Regions from separate parts of the Homo sapiens genome. Here region 2 is linked to region 1. Evidence: promoter capture Hi-C in human tissues and cell types (Jung and others, 2019). All regions are on one chromosome and are shown on one strand. Each heading gives the region's core, a stretch centred on a gene start or on the middle of the fragment in contact. The rest is flanking DNA. Distances are from core to core; before and after follow the strand shown.

Evidence for each region. Contacts are between HindIII fragments. The study calls those that stand out against the background at their distance.
Region 2: a contact is called between a fragment that was not itself captured here and the fragment with the promoter of EIF4G2 in region 1, in 1 of the 25 tissues and cell types used here (dorsolateral prefrontal cortex).

What each region holds. Positions count from the first base shown.
Region 1 is chr11:10,807,323-10,812,202 of GRCh38, forward strand. EIF4G2 (eukaryotic translation initiation factor 4 gamma 2) reads right to left here and starts at 1,604. Exons shown (of 22, transcript NM_001418.4): 1 at 1,383-1,604; 2 at 1-59. It overlaps LOC101928053 (a long non-coding RNA gene), which reads left to right and starts at 1,975. Exons shown (of 3, transcript NR_120540.1): 1 at 1,975-2,044; 2 at 2,535-2,599. RefSeq lists enhancers at 377-456, 1,187-1,446, 1,957-2,006, 2,082-2,688 and a silencer at 1,727-1,776. The HindIII fragment of the contact is 7,870 bases long and covers 1-4,880 here.
Region 2 is chr11:11,762,504-11,767,657 of GRCh38, forward strand. No RefSeq gene overlaps it. Among named protein-coding and RNA genes, the nearest start is that of MIR8070, 18 kb to the right of the region's middle. The HindIII fragment of the contact is 3,796 bases long and covers 1,470-5,154 here.

The sequences.
Region 1 (4,880 bases), core at 354-2,853:
CAAAAGAATAATATTAATAGATGGGGTGGGGAGGGGAGGGGACAGGAGAAATGAAATACCTGGAACGAGAAAGAGCACCAAAATTAGACACTGCTAACATACAGATCTATAAGCCTTCATTCAATTACAACGTATTTCAGATCCTGGCACTGTCACTGCATTGCAGATCTGTAAGACTAACCTAAAATGTACTCAAAACACTGACAATTACATTTTGTTTAGCCACCTGGAAATTCCCCGGTGTTCAAGGATGCAAAGAGACTTCGTAGAACACAAGAGCATTTTAAACGGCTCAGAACGAATCTTTTGAAAAAGCCACATTCTACTATCTTTAAAACTGAGCACTGAGATCAATAGAAAAGTCTAACTACAGACACGAGCAACATCACGTGGAAAATGTCTGCCCTAGGAATTTTTACTGCCTTGACGAGGCCAGCGACTAGATGAGGTCTCTCCGAAAGCTCTTCAGCAGTTTTCCCCTGTCCACCCTTTCGCCTCCTCCCCGTGGAGAGCTCGTGGAAAGACGCGCGAGAGGGGGCCGGGTGTACAGGACTAGCACTTGCAGGCGGAAGACCAGGGCCACAACATGGCAGCAGGAACCTCCGCCCCGTTTTTCCCTTCCTGGGAACAAAAGAGCGGAGCATTCCTCCCACCCAGGCGCAAGTTAGGGAAGTGCTTCCGACAACCTCCCCGCGAGGCCCGGGTCGCTCGACGGGGAGGAGCAGCTGAGGCCACCCCCGCCAGCCCGGCGCCCAGCTCTTTGTTCTCCAAGCAGGAAGGCGGCCTCCTGCCCACCCGCCGCCTCCAAGCGGGCCCCCTCCTGCACCATAAATCCCCCCGGGACTGACAACCGCCTCGCCACGGCCTCCTCTGCTGACAAAAGGGGCAGAAATCATCACTCTCTCTTTCCTCCCCGACGAAGGGCAGCCCCTGCCGACTCCAGGTCCTACACACCTCCCCGCCGGGAGGCCAGGCTCCGGGACGCCTGCGGTTCCCTGGTCCCGCGCCAACGGCCTGGCCTTCCCTGCCGGCCCGCGTGCCTCCCGCCACGGCGCTAGCGGTCCGAGCCACGCTCCCTCGCCGTCCGAGCACAGCCGTGCCTCGGTCCGCCACGGCCTCGTCCCTGCAGGCGTCGGCCATCCGGCCATGACCGCACGGCGGCCTGGCCAACACTGACGTTTTCCTTCTACTCCGTCAGCAACAGGAAGAGAGAACAAAAGCCAAGACTTTCCAGGTATCTGAAGCGCAGAGGAAATGCTAAAAAAGGGTCGCCCCACCCGGCTCCGCCTGCGGCCGCCATTTTGTACCACTCGAGAAGAAGCGACCAGGGACGGCGGCCATTTTAGAGCGCTCCACTCGGCGGCGGCAGCGGCTCAACTCACCTTCACCGAGAACTCAGCAGCTGCCACCGCAGCTGCCTCCTCAGGATCCGGTCGTCGGGGATAGGGAAGGGAGGGGAAAGGGGAACGGAAAACAAAAAAAAGGGGGAGGGAAGGGGGAGGAAGGAGTCGGGGACGGCCTCAAACTCAGCTCAGAGGAGTCGCTGCTGCAGCCGCCACTCGGTACCCGCTGCCACCTCCATAGAGCTCCGACTCACTGCTGGCGCTAAGGCGTGTCTGAAGCCGAACTTATCACTCTTGGGGCAGCCGAACCCACCAGAGTCTCCCCGAATGGCTCCTTCGCCGCCCAATCAGCGGCCCGGTTGCCGTCTGCCACCAATCCGCGCAGGGCAGCGAGGAGGAGCCACAGGGCTGAGCTCGGTTGCGGCGCAGCCCCGCCGCAGTGCGCAAAGCCATATTCGCGAAGTCTCTGAGGCTGAGCCAGTGGCGTAAGGGGCGCCGAGCGCTGTCGAGATGAGGGTTGCGTGCGTAAAGCCGGAGAGCCCTTTTGAGTCTGCGTTGGCGTGGCTGCTGCTTCTTGCTCCAGTCCCTTTGTTCACTGAGTCCATATGCCATGCTCCAGTTGTATCATCCCCTTTTCCCTCGACCTCGTTTTCTCACCGGGAATATGGGAAGAAAACGCACCCTTACCTCCCCCGAACCCTGTGCGTGGCGAGTGAGCATTGCTTTTCTTGGCGCCCCTTGGAGCTGTGGCTGCCCTCGCGTGCCTGGCCTCTCCCGGGGCTGAGCCCTTCGGGTTGAGGCCTGGAGCCCCCGGGCGCAGCGCCGGGACACTACCCGGCTCCAGGTCCTCGGCTTCGGCAGCCTTAGGGAACCCAGAAAGTAGTGGGGAGGAGGCGAGACGTGCGCCCGGATGCCAAAGGGGAGCTTCATTCAGCTCCTTATTGGCCCACCCCCTGCAGAGTGAATGAGAAAGTGATGAAAGGAAGGGGTTGATTTTCTTCGAACCGCACAGAAGAAGCTGCTTTTCCCATAGGAATGTCCGGCTGGCGGTCACCGAGGAAAACACCCTGTGTGTCAGACTTCCGCGGGTGTTTGGAGGATTTCGAATTGCTAGCTCCTGTTTTTTTTTGTTTTTTGTTTGTTTAAGTGCACGTTAAACATTGTCAGTTGTGTATTTTCATTTTATTTAAGGTTCACCATAAGAAATAGGATTAAGCTTTTCAAAGCCGGCAAGTTGAACTATTTATACTTACCAGGTAATGTATTGATGAGTACCTTATTCCATCGTTTGCGACATTGTAGCTATACTAAAATGGAGTCATACTTCCATAAACTTAAACAACAAAAATGTCCCCATCTCCATTTTAACATGTAGTACTTTTACAGTGTATAGTCAAAGGCAAGAATGTGTGTGTTTTAACATGAATGACTTTTAAAGTGTTCAGTAAGAGGCAGGATTTTCAAAGACCCAAACTTAACCTTTGATGTGTCAAAACAGCTCTTGGTATTAGAGCACCTGGTCCTTAATACAATTTTCCGGAAAATTGCAGTTTTTCCTACGACATTTAAATGTAATAGAAGGCTGTGGTGTGGCTCTGAAGGTTTTTAACACAATTCCAACATCTGTAGATCTTTGCTATAGAATAGTCACCATTCCCTACTTTACTGTTACTACACTTATTGCTATTACATCAATTTTACTTGAACTTTAAAACTTGGAAGAGATATTCTAAAAAAAAAAAAAAACTATTTTGGGGTGGTGGTGGTGGTGCAAGTTTTGTTTTAAATACAAGAGGTTTCACTTTGTATTTCTTTGGACCCTTCTAGCTTCATGATAACACGAGAATAATGTTTCTTTATAATTTCTGTAGGGCTTTAAGGTTTGGAAAAATGCATTAGTATATGTGATATTTTTACATAACTGGTTTACATTCCATTTATCTGATAATGAACGAATACATTAGTTTACTAAGAAGAGTAGTATTCAAAAACTATTGTCTAGACTTCAAAGAGAATATTCACCTAGCCGTAAAAGTCGGATGTTCTTATAATTAAGACACTTAAAATTCAGTAATTAAAAATTTAAAAAAGGTTTTACTTAATATTTTATTTAATCTTTGCTAATTGGGAACCCTTTTGGTATGGGCTTTGCAGATATGAGTTTATGTGAGAAATTGACCTGGAAGGGAATAACCTAAGGTAGAAAAAGTAAAAATATTGATAAAACAATCTTTCAATTACCTTTCTCTCACTTAAATAGAAAGATTTGAAGTTGAAATCGTACCTGCAAAGCCCATTGCAGAAGGGTTCACAATTAGCAAAGATTAAATAAAAACATTAAGTAAAACCTTTAGAAAAAAAAATTTTTTTTTGAGACAGAGTCTCACTTTGTCACTCAGGCTGGAGTGTAGTGGTGTGATCTCTGCACACTGCAGCCTCCACCTCCTGGGTTCAAGCAGTTCTCGTGCCTCAGCCTCCTGAGTAGCTGGGATTACAAGCATGTGCCACCACGCCCAGCTAATTTTTGTATTTCTACTTGAGATGGGGTTTCACCATGTTGCCCAGACTGGTCTCAAACTCCTGACCTCAAGTGATCCACCCGTCTGGGCCTCCCAAAATACTGGGATTACAGGTGTGAGCCACTGTGCCCAGTGTAAAAAATTTTTAATTATTGAATTTTAAGTGTCTTAATTATAAGAACATCTAGCTTTTAGGGCTAGATGAATATACTCTTTGAAGTCTAGACAATAGTTTTTTTTCAAATCGAAATATATTTAAGTGAGGGAAATAAACATTGAAACTTTCTAAATGTTTCCATCACGTCATGGATATATGAAAATTCAGCAGCACTTTTGGAGGCCAAGCTGGGAGGATTCTTTGAGCCCAGGAGTTGGAGACCAATCTGGGCAACATAGGGAGACCCCCCCATCTCTAAAATTAAAAATTAATCCAGATGTGGTGACATGCATCTGTAGTCCCAGCTACTTGGGAGGCTGACATGGGCGAATCCCTTAAGCCCAGGACTTTGAGGCTGCACTAAGCCATGGTCACGCCACTGCACTCCAGCCAGGGCAGTAGAGTGAGATCCTGTCTCAAAAAAAATAAAATGCTAGGCATGGTGGCTGATGCCTGCAATCCCAGCTCTTTTGGAGACTGAAGCAGGTGGGTAGCTTGAGCTCAGGAGTTTGAGACTAGCCTGGGCAACGTGGTGAAAACCTGTCTCTACAAAAAATACAAAAATTAGCCTGTGTCCCACATGCCTGTAGTACCAGCTACTTGGGAGGCTGAGGCAGTAGGATGGCTTGAGCCCTGGAGGTCGAGGCTGAAGTGAGCCATGATCATGTCACTGCACTCCAGCCTGGGTAACAGAGCGAAATCCTATCTTAAACACACACACACACACAGAGTCATTGTCTGGAATTTAGCTTTTAGTTCATTGAAAATTGAATTTTAAATATACCCACTTAAGTCTGCTAGTTTTCCACTGCTAGTTTTATCAGTTTTCTCTAAGTCCTGACTAACTTGTTAACTCATATA
Region 2 (5,154 bases), core at 2,118-4,617, 960 kb after region 1:
TCTTCTAACCTCCAGCTCAGGGTTCTTCCTAACACACTTTGGGCCCAAGGAACCTGACTTAAATTAAAGGACTCCTATGGGCTTGGAATACTCCAAACTCTGGGTAATTATGTGCTGTAAAGGGCAGGACATCAGAGAAAGAAGCTAAAGGGTAGTCGAAGTCCAAAACCAAAATCAGGTGCCAAATGGAAGGAGCAGAATGGGGCCAGTGTGTGATCAGATTCTCATTCCTGAGAAAGGACAGAGGAGACACACAAGCATGCAGGACAGGTCATAGTGGGGAGGTGGGCCAGAAGCACGGGGATTTCCAGGACTGAATCTGGGAACAAGTTTGCCTTAGAACACTCCTCTTTTCCATGGGGCAGGTTTAGTGAATGCCCCTTTAAAAGATCTGCCTCATACTGACTCTTTGTTCTATATATTAGGGCAAGTCAACAGGGTAACATTGAGCAGGTCCTGGGCTCTACTGGGTAATTGGCATGTCAGGAGACACTGGGAGAATATCCCACCCCACATAGCAAATGTCATCTCGGGGTCTCCTTGCAGGCTCCCTGTGGCCCTGGCAGGAGCTGTCTCGAACAGAAGTATGTGCTTGAATTTTAGCTCCTGCCCTGCCATATTCAGATGAAAAACTGAGGCTCAGAGAGGCTGGCTTCCAGAAATGACATGGGTGGTAACCAGAAGACACTTTATTTAACTCTGGCCTTCACTATCCCACTTCGGTGCTCCTGCCACCCCATCAAGCTCTCCCCTAAGCTACCTCCTGCTTTTCTAAACATAAGTATTATAGGTGATGATGTTTTGATTTGTTTTTTTAAATACTTGAGATAGGGTCTCGCTATGTTGCCCAGGCTGGTCTTGAACTCCTGGGCTCAAGCAGTCTTCCCACCTCAGCCTCCCAAAGTACCAGGATTACAGGTGTGAACCACCACGCCCAGCTAGCTATGATTTTGTTTAAATACTTTCAAAATTCTTGTGTTTTTTCATTTTTTGTATTTTATTGATATAGTTGTACATGTTTGGGGGTACATGTGATATTTTGATACATGTATATAATGTGTAATGGTCAAGGTGATTATGTTTTTTTAATTAATTACACTTTCTTTCTTTTTTTTTTTTTGCAAATGCTGTAGATGTCATGATACCCCCTGAGATATTTTCGAAACTCAAAGATCTCAAATCTGGAGTTGGGAATCAGAGTTAATTCAGATGGTTTGGCCCTTGAAGCTTGGCTAAATCTTTTCTAGGAAAAAAAACACATAATAGAAAATCTGTTTTTATTTTTAATTAGTGTAAAAATTTCCAGATGATGGACTATATATGCAATGAACTCTAATCCACTGAAATAAGTTCATCCTTTTTTGATCAAATTTTCACAGCTGGAACATAAATGACTTGCTACCAGGAGAGGAGGAATTCACCCTCCTTGCTTGAAAGGCAGGTGAGGAGGAGCTGTGGGTTCAGTCTGTGATGATCCAGCTGCCAATCCTCACTGCTTCTCCAAATGTGAGAGAACCCAACAAGCACCTGCCTCCACGGGGTATAGTCACTGCCCAGGAGAGATGACTAGCTGGTCTGTTTTCCTGCAAGCCCAGGAAAATGCGATACTCCTGAAATGGCCATGAGCCCTTTGGAGATGAGGACCTCTCATCCCTAGGAAAGAAGAGGAGGAGGATCTTTTCCCATAGATCCTCATATTCTCCCTCTCTAAGCTTCACACTCAGAGCCTGGGGAGGAGTAAGAGAAAGCGGTGGTGGTGAAGAGCAGCCTGTCAAGATGTGGGAGTGATGTTTCCATGCATGGTGATGGCAGGGCAAAGTCCCTAAGCCTGCCCCCACTCCTCATGGGATTATTTCTTGTGGAAAAAGGCAGTACCACGAAGATAATCTCCTTTTTCTCTCCTTGTCCCCTTCCTGGATATCCTCATTTAACTCTAGAAAGCCAAGAGTATCTTTCTTTTAAAAAAAGATCTGAAATACTGAAAAAAAGCAAGAAAGAAAAGATTCTAAATGTCCATCAAGAGAGGAAGAGTCAAGAAGATCATGTTGCATTCATTAGCTATGATAATATGTAGCAGTTATAAGTGACATTTATCATGTTTCTAAAATGGAGAAGTGCAGTCTGCGAGGTCTTCCCTAGAGAATTATCACAATCCTACGAAAACTCTGTATGAGGAAAATGCTTCATAGAAATGTAACTGAATATTAACCACAGATTGTCTGAAAAGTAAGACTATTGGTGATAATTTTTCTCTACTTTCTATGTTACTTGAGTTTTCAATTTTTTAATAATTCATATAAATTCCCCAAACAGAAAAAGTAAACTTTTTAAAAAAAATATTCTTCTCCAAACAGTGACAACTTTTAGAGAAAATAGTGTAGGGTAGCAGTGGTTGAGACTCAGGCTCAAATAGACTTGAGTTTGAATCCCAGCTTTGCTGTCTTACCAGCAGTGCAACAGGGTTAATTGTTTTATACCTCTGTGCCTCCATTTCTTCTTTTGTACAGTGTGAGTAATAATATCTACTTGACATTGTCATTGTGAGGATTCAGTGGGATAAAGTATAAAAAGTACTTTTCCTGGCTGGGCACAATGGCTCATGCCTGTAATCCCAGCACTTTGGGAGTCCAAGGCGGGCGGATCACGAGGTCAGGAGATCGAGACCATCCTGGCTAAAATGGTGAAACCCCATCTCTACTAAAAATACAAAAAACTAGCCAGGTGTGGTGGTGGGCACCTGTAGTCCCAGCTACTTGAGAGGCTGAGGCAGGAGAATGGCATGAACCCAGGAGGTGGAGTTTGCAGTGAGCCAGGATTGCACCACTGCACTCCAGCCTGGGCGAGAGTGAGACTCCGTCTCAAAAAAAAAAAAAAAAAAAGTACTTTTCCCAACACCTGGTACATAGAGGGTGCTTCATCAGTGTTAACTATTTTACTCTTGTCATTGCTGCTATTGTTGCTAAGTCACCTGAAGTCCACTGCATGAGCTGATGGTTAGGACTGCATACACATAGATTAACAACTTAAATGTAAGACTTAAAACTGTAAACTACTAGAAGAAAATATAGGGGGAGAAATCTTCACATTGGTCTTGGCAAAGATTTTTTGGGTATCACTCCCAAAGTACAAACAGAAAAAGCAAAAATGGGCAATGGGATTGCCTTGAAAAAAAATCAACAAGTGAAGAGAAAACCTACGGAATAGAAAAAAAAAGTTTGCAAACCATATGTCTCATAAGAAGCTAAATCCAAAACATATATAAGGAACTCGTACAACTCAACAGCTATAAAACAAATAACCTAATTTTATGTATTTATTTACACATTTATTTTGGGACAGGGTCTTACTCTGTCACCCAGGCTGGAGTGCTGTGGTGTGATCACAGCACACTGCAGCCTCAACCTCCAAGCTCAAGCAATCCTCTTGTTTCAGCCTCCCAAGTAGCTGGGACTACAAGAGTAAGCCGCCAAGCCCAGCTAAATTTTTATTTTTTATTTTTTGTAGAGACAGAGTCTCACTATGTTGCCCAGGCAGGTCTCTTACCCCTGGGCTCAAGCTATCAATTCTGCCTTGGCCTCCCAAAGTGCTGGGATTACAGGTGTGAGCCTCCATGCCTGACTGCCTGATTTTAAAACAGGCGAAAGACCTGAATAGACATTTATCAAAAGATGATATACAAAAGGCCAACAGGTATATGAAATGGTGCTCAACATTACTGACCATCAGTACAACATTACTGACCATTAATACCACAATGGGATATCACCTCATACCAGTAAGAATGGCTTTTACCAAAAAGAGAAAAGATAACAAACATTGGCAAGGATATGGAGAAAAGGAAACCCTTGTGTACTATTGATGGGAATGTAAATTAGTACAGCCAGTATGGAAAAAAGTAAGATCCCTAAAAAACTAAAAATAGAACTACCAAGTGATTCAGCAATCCCACTTCTGGGTATATACCCAAAGGAAGAGAAATCAGTATGTTGAAGAGATAACTGTATATCCACTTTCACTGTGGTATTATTCACAATAGCTAAAACATGGAATCAACCTACATGTCCACAAATGGATGAATGGATCAAGAAAATGTGGTATGTATACACAATGGAACACTACTCAGCCTTAAAAAAGAAGGAAATTCTGTCATTTATGGCAATATGGATTAACCTAGAGGACATGATGTTAAGTAAAATAAGCCAGGCACAGAAATACAAATACCACATGATCTCACTTATATGTGAAATCTAAAAAAGTCAAATTCAGAGAAGCAGAGAGTAGGATGATAATTACCACTGACTGGAGGGTGGGGGTTTGGGGAGATGCTGGTCAAAAAGTACAAGTTTCAGTTAAATAGGAGGAATAAGTTTTAGAGATCTGTTGTACAGCATGGTGACTATAGTTAATTATTGTTACTTGAAAATTGCTAGGAGAGTAGATTTTAAATATTCTCATTACAGGCTGGGCGCGGTGGCTCACGCCTGTAATCCCAGCACTTTGGGAGGCCGGGATGGGCGGATCACGAGATCAGGAGATTGAGACCATCCTGGCTAACACGGTGAAACCCCGTCTCTACTAAAAAAAAATACAAAAAAATTAGCTGGGCGTAGTGGCGGGCGCCTGTAGTCCCAGCTACTTGGGAGGCTGAGGCAGGAGAATGGCATGAACCTGGGAGGCGAAGCTTGCAGTGAGCCGAGATCGCGCCACCGCACTCCAGCCTGGGCAACAGAGCGAGACTCCGTCTCAAAAAAAAAAAAAAAAGAAAAAAATTCTCATTACACAAATGATAAGGATGTCAGGTGATGGATATGGTAATTAGCTTGATTTAGTCATTTCATAATAGATACCTATATCGAAATAGCATGTTGTATACCACAAACATACATACTTTTTATTTGTCAATTTTAAAAAGTTGTTTACGTAGATGGAATCAAACAGTCAAAAACAAAAACACAAGAATACATAGAGAACAGTCAAGGTCCTGCCTCTGGATGGGCTGGTCCCTAAGGATACTAAATGAAGATGGCAGTGCTGGAGGGAGTCTTGAGCTTTTCAGTTGCTGAAAAGCTACCGGCTGGTCTGCAGTGAAAGAAGTTCCTATGGAAAAGACCAGAAGAGTCACTGCAGCTGAATGAGCCACCATTTGGCTTCACT